2 separate regions of the Homo sapiens genome follow, and region 1 is linked to region 2. The links are contacts of gene promoters, found by promoter capture Hi-C in human tissues and cell types (Jung and others, 2019). All regions are on one chromosome and are shown on one strand. The core of a region is centred on a gene start or on the middle of the fragment in contact, and the rest is flanking DNA. Distances in the headings are between cores, read along the strand shown. Region 1 holds the start of FTL (ferritin light chain). Region 2 holds the start of FUT2 (fucosyltransferase 2 (H blood group)).

Evidence for each region. Contacts are between HindIII fragments. The study calls those that stand out against the background at their distance.
Region 1: a contact is called between the fragment with the promoter of FTL here and the fragment with the promoter of FUT2 in region 2, in 5 of the 25 tissues and cell types used here (IMR-90 fibroblasts, dorsolateral prefrontal cortex, heart right ventricle and 2 more).

Annotation. Positions count from the first base shown.
Region 1 is chr19:48,961,435-48,967,594 of GRCh38, reverse strand. It overlaps FTL (ferritin light chain), which reads right to left and starts at 2,286. Exons shown (of 4, transcript NM_000146.4): 1 at 1,986-2,286; 2 at 1,679-1,825; 3 at 1,189-1,314; 4 at 716-1,012. The coding sequence starts at 2,087. The coding sequence ends at 860. It overlaps BAX (BCL2 associated X, apoptosis regulator), which reads right to left. Exons shown (of 6, transcript NM_138761.4): 6 at 5,797-6,063. The coding sequence ends at 5,959. RefSeq lists enhancers at 1,997-2,046, 3,596-3,705, silencers at 2,297-2,456, 5,227-5,396 and cis regulatory regions at 3,387-3,887, 4,827-5,347. The HindIII fragment of the contact is 5,012 bases long and covers 217-5,228 here.
Region 2 is chr19:48,690,781-48,697,282 of GRCh38, reverse strand. FUT2 (fucosyltransferase 2 (H blood group)) reads right to left here and starts at 1,312. Exons shown (of 2, transcript NM_000511.6): 1 at 1,194-1,312. RefSeq lists enhancers at 350-913, 1,478-2,041. The HindIII fragment of the contact is 31,324 bases long and covers 1-6,502 here.

The sequences.
Region 1 (6,160 bases), core at 1,037-3,536, 270 kb before region 2:
AGTTGCATAGCAATAGCGTCAATGTGCCCATATAAAGGGCCTAATAATTCCAACTGCCTCCCAGAATTGAGGCTTTTTTCTTTTTTGAGACAGAGTCTTACTCTGTTGCCCAAGCTGGAGCACAGTGGCGCCATCTCAGCTCACCGCAACTTCCGTGAGGCAGACATGTTTTTTGTTTGAGATGGGAGTTCCACTCTTTTTGCCCAGGCTGGAGTGCAATGACGCCATCTCAGCTCACTGCAACCTCCGCCTCCCAGATTCAAGCGATTCTCCTACCTCAACCTCCTGACTAGCTGGGATTACAGGTATGAGCCACCACACCCAGCTAATTTTGTATTTTAGTAGAGACGGGGTTTCTTCATGTTGGTCAGGCTGGTCTCGAACTCCTGACATCAGGTGAGCGACCCACCTGGCCCCATAATCACTCGTTAAATAGGGCTGTTTCTGGCTGAGACCTAACATCTGTTTCTAGATACCAACCTAGGTCTTAATTCAACTCCCTGGAGTCTATCTCTACCATCTGGGAGGGACAGTTAACAGCCAGGCAAGCAGAGAACCCTCAGGTTCAACACTACCCAGATAGCCTCTTGTCTTAGGACAGTTAAGAAAATGGGAGATGGGGCCAACTCCTCTTTCACTGGCATCCCAACCCAGCCAGAAGCTTTATGAGAACAGATCCCACCTCATCTTCCACACCACACACAAAACCACCAGCTGCATCAAAAAGCTTTATTTCCATTTGGTCCAAGGCTTGTTAGGATAGTTAAGAAAGCTGCCTATTGGCTGGAGGGAGAGGCTTAGGCAGAAGCCCTATTACTTTGCAAGGGGCCCTTCAGAAGTCGCTGGGCTCAGAAGGCTCTTAGTCGTGCTTGAGAGTGAGCCTTTCGAAGAGATACTCGCCCAGCCCAGCCTCCGGGCCACCCAGCCTGTGGAGGTTGGTCAGGTGGTCACCCATCTTCTTGATAAGCTTCACTTCCTCATCTAGGAAGTGAGTCTCCAGGAAGTCACAGAGCTGAGAGAGAAGAGGGAGAAATTAGAAACCCAATCCCTGGAAAAGAGGGGGAGAGAGCAGCCAGTTGCAGATTAAAATGTGACAGGTGTGAAATGAGGCTCTGAAGGAAATTTGCCCAAAGGGAGCAGAGGCTTGAGGGGTATGGTTGGGTAGCCATGGATGCAGCGGGTACGTACATGGGGGTCCGTGCGGGCAGAACCCAGGGCATGAAGATCCAAAAGGGCCTGGTTCAGCTTTTTCTCCAGGGCCATGGCAGCTTTCATGGCGTCTGGGGTTTTACCCCACTCATCTTCAGCTGGCTTCTATATAGAAGGGAGAAATGGCTCAGAATACACACACTCGGCACATAGAACTAAACCTACATTTCCCAAGAGTCGTTGGGGGTCAGAGGCCCAGGCCACAAAGACATGTGACAGCTTGTATTTATCACTCTCCGCACCCTGTCCTAGCTCTTACAGCTATACGTCCCTAAGACCACGCAGCGGTGTGGACTGCCGCGTGTTGTGGGCACTGCACGAGGTGCGCCTCTATTTCCAGCGGTTAAGAGGGCTCACAAGACCGAACTCAATCTCCCAGAAGCCCACGCGACACCTACGCCCTCAAATCAAGGCTCCTCGCGCGCACGGCCTGCTGGGAGATGTAGTCCATTACCCACACACTAGTTACCTTGATGTCCTGGAAGAGAGCGCGGCCGCCACGCTGGTTTTGCATCTTCAGGAGACGCTCGTAGCCCTCGCGCTTCTCCTCGGCCAATTCGCGGAAGAAGTGGCTCACGCCTTCCAGAGCCACATCATCGCGGTCGAAATAGAAGCCCTACGGGAAGAGATGGAGGCAACAATGGTTAGCGGGAGGCGAGGCCAAGGGGACTCCGCCCTCTGTTTACCCGACCGCACAAAGAAGGCTGGCGCGTGCAGTGAGGGCCGGAGGTGCGCAGCTGGAGGAAATTAGGGCCAGGGGCGTCCTGGGGACTCACCAGAGAGAGGTAGGTGTAGGAGGCCTGCAGGTACAAATTGACCAGGCTGTTGACGGCTGCCTCCACGTCGGTGGAATAATTCTGACGAATCTGGGAGCTCATGGTTGGTTGGCAAGAAGGAGCTAACCACAAAAACGGTGCTGGCAGGTCCCAGAAGCAGGAGATGGCCGAGAAGATGGTCCCGGAGGTTGCAAGCGGAGAGGAAATCGGAGGGCGGTCGGAGGCTGGAAGAGAGTCCCCGGATCTGTTCCGTCCAAACACTGTTGAAGCAAGAGACAGACCCGCGGGACCGCCGAACTGCGAGGGGACGTGGCTAGGGCGGCTTCTTTTATGGTGCGCCGGCCCTCGGAGGCAGGGCGCTCGGGGAGGGCTAGCGGCCAATCTGCGGTGGCAGGAGGCGGGGCCGAAGGCCGTGCCTGACCAATCCGGAGCACATAGGAGTCTCAGCCCCCCGCCCCAAAGCAAGGGGAAGTCACGCGCCTGTAGCGCCAGCGTGTTGTGAAATGGGGGCTTGGGGGGGTTGGGGCCCTGGGGCTGATTCTGGAAATGCAGGGGTTCGTGGGCGGGAGGGTGGGGGCTGGGGTCCCTCTGGGAGGCTAGAGTTTTATGGGAGCACTAACAGCCCTGTGAACTGATGACCCTGGGGTCCTGGGGTGCCTCGGGAAAGTAAGATTCTGGGGTTTCCGAGGGCATGGATTTTTCTGGAACCTTGAGTGGGGGGAGGGGCACCTCAAAGGTGCAGGGAGGACCTGTAGTTGCCTGAGGTTTGCGCTGCGAGATAAGGAGTCTCCGGATCCTTGGGAAGCTTGGAAGGCTGTGAGGTGTTATTTCTGGACCCCTGGAGATCTCTGGAAGATGGAGTGTTGCGGGGACTGGAGTCCTGGGATTTACAGGGGTGGGGGTTCACGATGCAAACTCTCTATATTTTGGAGCCCTCCCCGGGGAAATCTTTAGGTTCTTGAGGTGCTCTGCAAGTTGGAAAGGGCAGTTATTCTGGAGCCGTGGGTTTCACCCAGTGCGGGAAGCCCAGGAGGAGCATTGTATGAGGTAGGGTGACTTCTGGAACCCTGGACAGCCCTCTGGAACCCTCCAAAGATGGGCTGGGACTTTGGGGATACCTTGGAGCTCTTTCAGGGGCCCAGGCTTTTTCTGGGAGTGGAAATGGGGAGGAATGAAAAGTCTGTTTTGAGCTTTGCGGTGTCTCTGGGATTGCATTTCCTGGAGGCTGTTTTGGAGACAACTCACAGACTTCGAGAATTCTCCGTGGCCCTGAACAGTGTCTCTGAAGTTGCCCTCGTGTCTTGCCTGACGTGTGCTCCTTCAGGCCCACAAAGAGAAGCCCTGCGTTGTGGACAAACAGTCTGGGGACCTATGGACGAGACGTCTGTCTTCGACTAATGCATATTTTTTAAGTGGGCCTGGTCCACGTTGATTTCTGGGAGACGGAGTCGGCGCAAACCTTGACTCTACTTAAGTGCCCTGATGGAGGCAGCCCGTGCGCTGGGCAGGGAGCTGAAGCCACTGGGGTGTGGGGTGAGGTCAGGCCCTGCCCTACAGAGGAGCTGCTCCGAACAGCCCAGGCGGGGCAGCCCCTGACCGAGGGGATCTGCAGATGCCCCGCCAGGCCGGTATCTGGGGTCCTTGTTGCAGGCAGCGACTGCTGAGTCATGCTGAGCTCAGCGCGGGAAGGGGCCCCCGCGGGGACGGATGGGGGTGGGGCCACTCGCTGACCTCATCCCCTTGGCACTCCCCGACTTTTTTGGTGGGACCCTCAGAACTAGACCTGGCTCAGACCCAAATCGGGCCCCCTACCCCAAGGTCCCCCCTTGTTGGAAGCCGGCTGTGTGCTTTGTCTCCGTGTCTTTTTGGTTCCCATAATTTTTTTTTTTCTGGGATCCTGCCTGTGGCCATATTGTCCCCTCACTCTGGGTGGTGGCTCAGTGTACACTCATTGATCCTCTGCCCCTCTCTCTCCCCTGACTTGGGGTCTCTGGGAAGAGTCCATGGAGGAGGGGCAGCCGTCCAAAGCACCCCGTTGACTGTGGGGCCCGAGTTACTCATTTACCAAATGTCATACCTCAGCCCAGAGACCTTTAGTCGGCCGAGAGGGGCCTTGGGGCCCATAGGTGGAGGGAGAGGAGGGGCTGAGAGAGACAGGATCTGAAGACCATAGAGAACGTGGGGTGGGGAGACAGAGGCCCAGAGAAAAAGAGACTCAGACAGAGACCCTGAGAGAGAGGGGGACAGAGACCCAGAGAGAGGGGAAAACAGACCCGGAGACAGAGGGGTACAGAGACCCTGAGAGAGAGGGGAGGGGGACAGACCTAGAGAGAGGAGGGCAGAGACCCAGAGGGAGGGGAAAAGAGACCCAGAGAGAGGGGGGGACAGAGGTGGGGGGGGACAGAGGCAGGGAGGTACAGAGACCCAGGGGTGGGGGGGATAGAGACCCAGAGGGACCCGGCGGGAGGGGACAGAAATCCAGAGTGGGGGACAGAGATCCAGAGAGAGGTGGGGACAGAGATCCAGAGAAGGGGGTACAGAGACCCAGAGAGAGGGGGGACAGGGACTCAGAGAGAAGGGGACAGAGACTAGGGAGGACTGAGACCTGGGGGGGCGGGGACAGGGACCCGGGGGCGGGGGACAGAGACCGGGGAGAGGGAAAGAGACCCAGAGAGAGGGGAGGTACAGAGACCCAAGAGAGAGTGACAGCCAGAGAGAGGACAGAGACCCAGAGAGAGGGAGACAGAAACTCAGGGTCGGGGGACAGACCCAGAGAGAGATGGGGGGCCAGAGATCCAGAGGGGGGGACAGAGACCCAGAGAGAGGGGGCCAGAGGTCTGGGTGCCAGGGGTGGAAAGAGGCCCAGAGAAAGAGGGCCAAAGGTGGGGTGGGAACAGAGGCTCGGAAAGCAAAGACCCAGAGCATGGGGACAGAGACCCAGAGATGGGAGGGGGTAAAGACCCAGAGGGGGGTGCCAGAGACCCTGTGACTGAGAACCCACATCCTCTAGCCCCCTTGTCTTCGCTCCGCCTGTGTCTAAGGTCACTGGGCCTCTGAGCTCAGCACCTTCTTCCGGCAGTTCCTCTCCAGGGGGGCCCCACCCAGCTGTGGGGCCAGACCAGGTTCCTCCTCCTCTGCCCTGCCCTCCAGCCTCTCAGTCGCCAGCCAGGTCCCTTCCTCTCTGTCCTCAGCCCAGCTCAGGAGGCCTCTCCCGTGGGCCCTCGCCCTGGTGTCCTCAGCCTGCCACCCTCCAGCGACCTCACCACCAGGCTCCAGAGCCCTTCCTGCTCCTCTGGTCCTCCCATCCCTCCTCCCCCCACTCCCATTCTCCAGCTCGGTAAAGGTATGGCCTCCTGAGGTCCCACGTGTGACACGCCAGGCTGTGGTCCCCGGGCCGAGGAGGCTTGCTCTGCAGCCGGCCGTGCTGTTCTTCCCTTACCCACACGCCTGCTTGGGCCTCACAGGCCGCTGCCTCTGTCCCGCACAGATCATCCTGGGCTGCGACAGATGTACCACCTATCACCCTCGTTTCCCGTGAGCTCCCTTTTCCTTTCCCGTGAGCTCCCTTCTTTTCCTTTCCCGTGAGCTCCTGCAGGTCAGGCCCAGGACCAACTCATCCCTAACCCACAGACCCCACAGGGCACCCCAGAAAAAGATGTCAAGTGAGTGCAGAGAGCCCCACGTCCCTGAGTGGCCCAAGCAGGTATCTCTAGGCCAGCAGACGGCGGGCCCGGCGTGGGGCAGCGGACAGGGCCTGCTCTCCTGACGTGCCGGGGAGCGGGGCAGAGGCCCAGTGACTCAGATGCCGAAGTGTGTCCCGAAGGAGGTTTATTACCCCCTCAAGACCACTCTTCCCCACACCCCCCAATAATTACAAAAGTAAGAAAAATGCCCACGTCCCCCAATCCCCACCCCTCCCAGAAAAATGCCATAATTTATGGAGGAAAAACACAGTCCAAGGCAGCTGGGGGCCTCAGCCCATCTTCTTCCAGATGGTGAGTGAGGCGGTGAGCACTCCCGCCACAAAGATGGTCACGGTCTGCCACGTGGGCGTCCCAAAGTAGGAGAGGAGGCCGTCCTGGAGACAGGGACATCAGTCGCTTCAGTGACTCGGCCAGGGGCAGCCCCTGGGCAGGCAGAGGCGGGATCAGGGACGGAGGAGGCCAGAAGGCAGG
Region 2 (6,502 bases), core at 63-2,562:
ACCTCCGCCTCCCGGGTTCAAACGATTCTCCTGCCTCAGCCTCCCGAGTAGCTGGGATTACAGGCATGCACCACCACGCCTGGCTAATTTTGTATTTTTAGTAGAGACGGGGTTTCTCCATGTTGGCCAGACTGGTCTCGAACTCCTGACCTCAAGTGATCCGCCTGTCTCGGCCTCCCAAAGTGCTGGGATTACAGGCGTCAGCCACCACGTCCAGCCCCGTCCACGTCTTTCTATTGCGGCCCGGCTTCCTCCTCTCCCCTCTGTCCCCTACACCCAGCGCCGGCCCTGCCCCTTCCCAGCTCGCAGCCCCTTCAGGGCTCCCTATGCCTCTTAAGACACAATCCCAGTCTCTCGCCGGCCCCGCACACCCCTCCGGCTTTGTCACCAGCTGTTCCCGTGAAATAACCCAGCTCTCCGCTCACCCGGGGCCCCGTCCTGTCCCCCAGCTCTGAAAGCCTTTCTCTACCCCAACCGCCCCGTGCCCCGGGCAGCTCAGCACATCCGGCTCAGTCGCACCCCACTGCCTCGAGCTCGCTGTCTTCCTGCACCTCCCCGGGATTCCCGGATTCCCGGCATTATCACTTCCACCCTGGGGAGGAGAAGGGAGCTTCAGACAATAACGTAGGGCCATCACTTGGAAACCCCACCTTTATTCTCCGACCCAGAACAGAAGCGGTGATTCAGAGCGGGATTAGGGAGTGCAGGAGGGACGGAGCCGCCCTCCCTGGGCGACGGCAGGGCTCGGAGGTGAGACCAGCAGTTTGGGTTCCATGAAGCCTCTGAGGAGCCCCAGGGTGGAGGCAGGAAAGTCGGGTCACCACCAGCTGTGCGCGAGCCATCTGCACCATTACTGCCAGGGTGGTTCATAGAAACTGCTGAGGGGAAGGAGACAAGGAAGGACCTGGTGGCCCGGGGTGGAGAAGGGGAGGGAGCTGGTGGTTGGAGCTCTAGAAACAGATCCACCTGGAAGGAAGTGGGGAGGGAGCTAAGGAGGGCGGCTGGCTGGGGAGGGGGGTCCTGGCTGCCGAGGGAGGGACCCTCCTCTCCTGGAGGTCCTGAGTTGGGGGTGCCTCCCAGAGGGCACCAGGGACCCACGAGGGCACACAGGTCCACGTCCCAAATCCCTGCTCTCCGCCTGGGCGTGTGTGCAGAGGTGTGCGTGTTGTAGGGTGGGAGAGGAGCCCCCTCACCTTCTCTCACCTGGTCCTGCTGAAGGAAACCGGGACAGAGTGGTTGGGCAGGCACCTCAGTGTTCCCTCTGGGTCTCTCTTCACTCAGGGCCAAAGAAACCCTTCCAGCATCGGTGACTGGCAAACCCCGCCCAGGAGCTACAGGGCTTTCCAGAGCAGGTGTGGCTGGGCTGCGGGAGGGAGGTGAGCCCGTAGCCCCTCCTCCCTCCCCATTGCCGGCCACAAAGTCCATCTTGTTATCTACCCTTAGCTCCTCCACCTGCACCAGGCACCCCAAGCCTGGCCATAAGGGTGGGGGAGAGAGGCAGGACAAGGTCGCATCCCCCATCCGGGTCCCCGAGGGTCTTCCTTGGGGAACTGTTGTGATGCCCCAACAGAAAGGGGCCCCCACTCTGCTCCGCTCCTCCAGGCAGCCAGGAAGGCCTCCAGGAAGGCAGCATGGAGGCGGGGGACAGAGTCCTGCTAGGCCAGGCTCTCGCTGACTCTGAGTCCCCTCAGAGTCTTATATTTATTTATTAATTAATTATTAGTAGTATTACTTTTTGAGAGAGTTTTGCTCTTGTTGCCCAGGCTGGAGTGCAATGGCGTGATCTCAGCTCACTGCAACCGCCGCCTCACAAGTTCAAGGGATTCTCCTGCCTCAGCTTCCCAAAGTGCTGGGATTACAGACGTGAGCCACCTCGCCCTGCCTATTTCAAAAAAATTTTTAAATACAAATGGGCCCGGTGTGGTGACTCACACCTGTAATTCTAGCACTTTGGGAGGCCGAGGCAGGCGGATCAACTGAGGTCAGGAGTCAGAGACCAGCCTGGCCAACAAGGTGAAACCCCGTCCTTATAAGAATACAGAAATTAGCCATGGCCCAGCACAGTGGCTCATGCCTGTAATCCCAGCACTTTGGGAGGCCGAGGCAGGTGGATCACCTGAGGTCAGGAGTTTGAGACCAGTCTGGCCAACATGGTGAAACCCTGTCTCTACTAAAAATGCAAAAATCAGTGGGGCGTGGTGGCATGCACCTGTAATCCCAGCTACTTGGGAGGCTGAGGCAGGAGAATCGCTTGAACTTGGGAGGCGGAGGTTGCAGTAAACTGAGATTACACCATTGCACTCCAGCCTGGGAAACAAGAGCAAAACTCTGTCTCAAAAAAAAAAAAGATGGATGAGGAATTTTACTGAGAGAAGAGGCAGGCACCACCAGAGCTCCCAGCAGTCCTAACAGGAGGAAAGAGAAACCAGCAGCCACTCCCCAGCTTCAGCTAAGCAGCAGGAGGCTACCTACCAGCTACGGAGCTCCCTTCAAACAAACAAACAAAAAAATCAGATCAAGCTTCCCACTCTAACCACCAGTTTGCAGAAAACAGGAGGACAAAGTTCCCAGTGAAACGACACCATGAGGCAGCAATCAGCCCAGTCCAGAATGTGAGCCCGTCCACAGGACAAACGACCTGTTTCCCTGTGATTCAGCGACAAGGAAAAAAGAAACAGGGTGGGGCGGGGAAGTGGGGAGGTGAGCTGTCATAAAATATGCAAAACAGGCCAGGTGTGGTGGCTCACGCCTGTAATCCCAGCACTTTGGGAGGCTGAGTCGGGCGGATCACGAGGTCAGGAGATTGAGACCATCCTGGCTAATACAGTGAAACCCCGTCTCTACTAAAAATATATATAAAAAAAAAATTAGCCGGGCGTGGTGGTGGGTGCCTGTAGTCCCAGCTACTTGGGAGGCTGAGGCAGGAGAATGGCGTGAACCCCGGGGGCGGAGCTTGCAGTGAGCCGAGGTCACACCACTGCACTCCAGCCTGGGCGACAGAGCAAGACTCCCTCTCAAAAAAAAAAAAAAAAAAAAAACGCAAAACAGATTTGGGGCTCAGAGGCTTAGACTTTCCAACTCCATGAATGTCCCACAGATGTTCCAAAGTCATGGGAATGACCTGGGCGCAGTGGCTCATGCCTGCAATCCCAGCACTTTGGGAGGCCGAGGCAGGAGGATCACCTGAGGTCAGGAGTTTGAGACCAGCCTAGCCAACATTTTTTTTTAGTGAAACTCCATCTCTACTAAAAATACAAAATTAGCTGGGCATGGTGGTGCACGCCTGTAATCCCAGCTACTCAGGAGGCTAGGGGAGGAGAATTCCTTGAACCTGGGAGGCAGAGGTTGCAGTGAGCCGAGATGGTACCACTGCACTCCAGCCTGGGTGACAGAGCAAGACTCTGTCTCAAAAATAAAACAAAGTCCTGAGAATGCAGGACAAACCTTCATTGCGTAACTTTTATTGTCGCTGACCCCAGCCGCGTAAACGCTGTGGTAGCATCCTAGGACCTCCACTGTGACAACTAAAAACAACCCCCACAGATTCCCATAACTCCCCCAGGGGGACAGCACTCCGGAATTCAGGACTGTTGCCCTAAACCCTCTGTTTTCCATTTCAGCTTTCCCTTACTGGTGCACGCCCCCATGCTTGGCCACCACGGCCAATTTCAAGCTACCAATAAGAGATCATTGAACATGGAATTGGAAAGAAACGCACAGTAATACATTGTTCTATAGTAAGTCTTCTTACTATGGTAAACACTTACCAGCCAGTTCTCTGGAGAAAAAAACACACTGTATGTTAGTATCTGCCAATCTGTGTGCCAATCAATGTATGTGCTCACTGCAACCTCCGCCTCCTGGGCTCAAATGAGTCTCCTGCCTTGGCCTCCTGAGTAGCTGGGACTACAGGTGCCCGTCACCACACTCAGTTAATTTTGTGTTTTTTTGTAGAGATGGGGTCTCACTATGTTACCCAGGCTGGCCTCGAACTCCTGAGCTCAAAGCGATCCTCCTGCCTCAGCCTCCCAAAGTGCTGGGATTACAGGTATGAACCATCTTGCCTGGCCTATTTACATTTATTATGTCTGTGTAATAGGCTTGCTATAGAACAATGTAATACTGTGCATTTCTTTCCAATTGCATGTTCAATGATCTCATATTGGTAGCTTGAAATTGGCCGTGGTGGCCAGGCATGGAGGCATGCACCTGTAATCTCAGCTACTCAGGAGGCTGAGGCAGGAGCATAGCTTGAAGCCAGAAGTTAAAGACCAGCCTGGGCAACATAGCAAGACCTTGTCTCTCTACAAAAAATAAAGAAAATTAGCCAGACATGGTGGCACATGTCTGTAGTCCCAGCTACTTGAGAGGCTGAGGCAAGAGGAGCCCAGGAGGTCCAGCGTCAGCTATGATCCTGACGCTGCACTCCAGCCTGAGTGACAGAGAAAGACCCTGCCTCTGAAAAATTAAAAAATAAATCTGGGCACAGTTGTTCACGCCTGTAATCTCAGCACTTTGGGAAGCTGAGGCAGGCAGATTGCTTGAGACCGGGAGTTCGAGACCAGCCTGGCTAACATGCTGTAACCCAGTCTCTACTAAAAATACAAAAATTACCTGGGTGTGGTGGTGCACACCTGTAGTCCCAGCTACTCGGGAAGCTGAGGCATGAGAATTGCTTGAACCTGGGAGGTGGAGGTTGCAGTGAGCTGAGATCACGCCACTGCACTCCAGCCTGGGTGACAGAACGAGACTCCATCTCAAGAAAAAAATAAGAAAAGTTTTTTTAAACACAAGTGTGTGAGGGTGGCTGTCCAGGGACACAAGGACACCGAAGAATGGTGATCAGTGCTTCCAGTATGGGGAAAAGTGGAACTCATTTATACAGGTAAAAATGGAGAGGTCAAACGCAGTGGCTAATGCCTGTAATCCCAGCACTTTGGGAGGCCAAGGCAGGTAGATCGTTTGAGGTCACGAGTTTGAGACCAGCCTGGTCAACATAGTGAAGCCCTGTCTCTACTAAAAAAAAAAAAATACAAAAATTAGCTGGCTGTGTGGTGGTGAGCACCTGTAATCTCAGCTACCTGGGAGGCTGAGGCAGAAGAATTGCTTGAACCTGGGAGGCAGAGGCGGGGTGGGGTGGAGGTTTCAGTGTTCCGAGATCGCACCACTGCACTCCAGCCTGGGCAAAAGAGCAAGACTCTGTCTAAAACAAACAAACAAACAAAACAAACAAAAAACCAACAACAACAACAACAAAAAATGGAGATCGTGAGCAGAATGACAGCATTTTGCATACAAAGGCTAACATACAGTTATAAGATTAGATTGACAGTTATAAAAGATTAGATTAGGTGCAGTGGCTCACACCTGTAATCCCAGCACTTTGAGAGGGTGGCGGGCTGATCATGAGGTCAGGAGTTTGAGAACAGCCTGGCCAACCCTGGTGAAATCCTGTCTCTACTAGATACAAAAAATTAGCCGGGCATGGTGGCTGTGCCTGTAATCCCAGCTACTCGGGAGGCTGAAGCAGAATTGCTTGAACCTGGGAGGCAGAGGTTGCACTGAGCCAATATCGTGCCATTGCACTCCAGCCTGGGTGACAGGGTGAGACTCCATCTCAAAAAACAAAACGAAAAAAAGGCCGGGCACGGTGGCTCACGCCTATAATCCCACCCAGCACTTTGGGAGGCTGAGGTGGGCGGATCATGAGGTCAAGAGATCGAGACCGTCGTGGCTAACATGGTGAAACCCCCATCTCTACTAAAAATTTAAAAAAAATTTTTTTAAATTAGCTGGGCATGGTGGCGGGCACCTGTAGTCCCAGCTACTCGGGAGGCTGAGGCAGGAGAATGGCGTGAACCCGGGAGGCAGAGCTTTCAGTGAGCTGAGATCACGCCACTGCACTCCAGCCTGGGCGACAGAGCGAGACTCCGTCTCAAAAAGAAAAAAAATTGTAGGCCGGGCACAGTGGCTCATGCCTGTAATCCCAGCACTTTGGGAGGCCGAGGTGGGCAGATTATGAAGTCAGGAGATCGAGACCATCCTGGCTAACATGGTGAAACCCCGTCTCTACTAAAACTACAAAAAGTAGCCAGGCGTGGTGGTGGGCGCCTGTAGTCCCACCTACTCAGGAGGCTTAGGCAGAAGAATGGTGTGAACCCGGGAGGTAGAGCTTGCAGTGAGCCAAGATCGAGCCACTTGCACTCCAGCCTGGGCTACAGAGCGAGACTTGTCTCAAAAAAAAAAAAAAAAAAAGAAAAAGAAAAAAGAAAGAAATTTACTCTTTCTGGACGGGCGGGGTGAGGTGGCTCACGCCTATAATCACAGCACTTTGGGAGGCCGAGGCAGGTGAATCATGTGAGGGCTGAAGTTCGAGAGCAGCCTGGGCAACATAGTAAAACCCTGTGCCTACAAAAAATGCAAAAATTAGCTGGGCATGGTGGTGCACATCTGTAATCCCATCTATTCAGAAGGCTGAGGAATGAGAATCACTTGAGCCCAG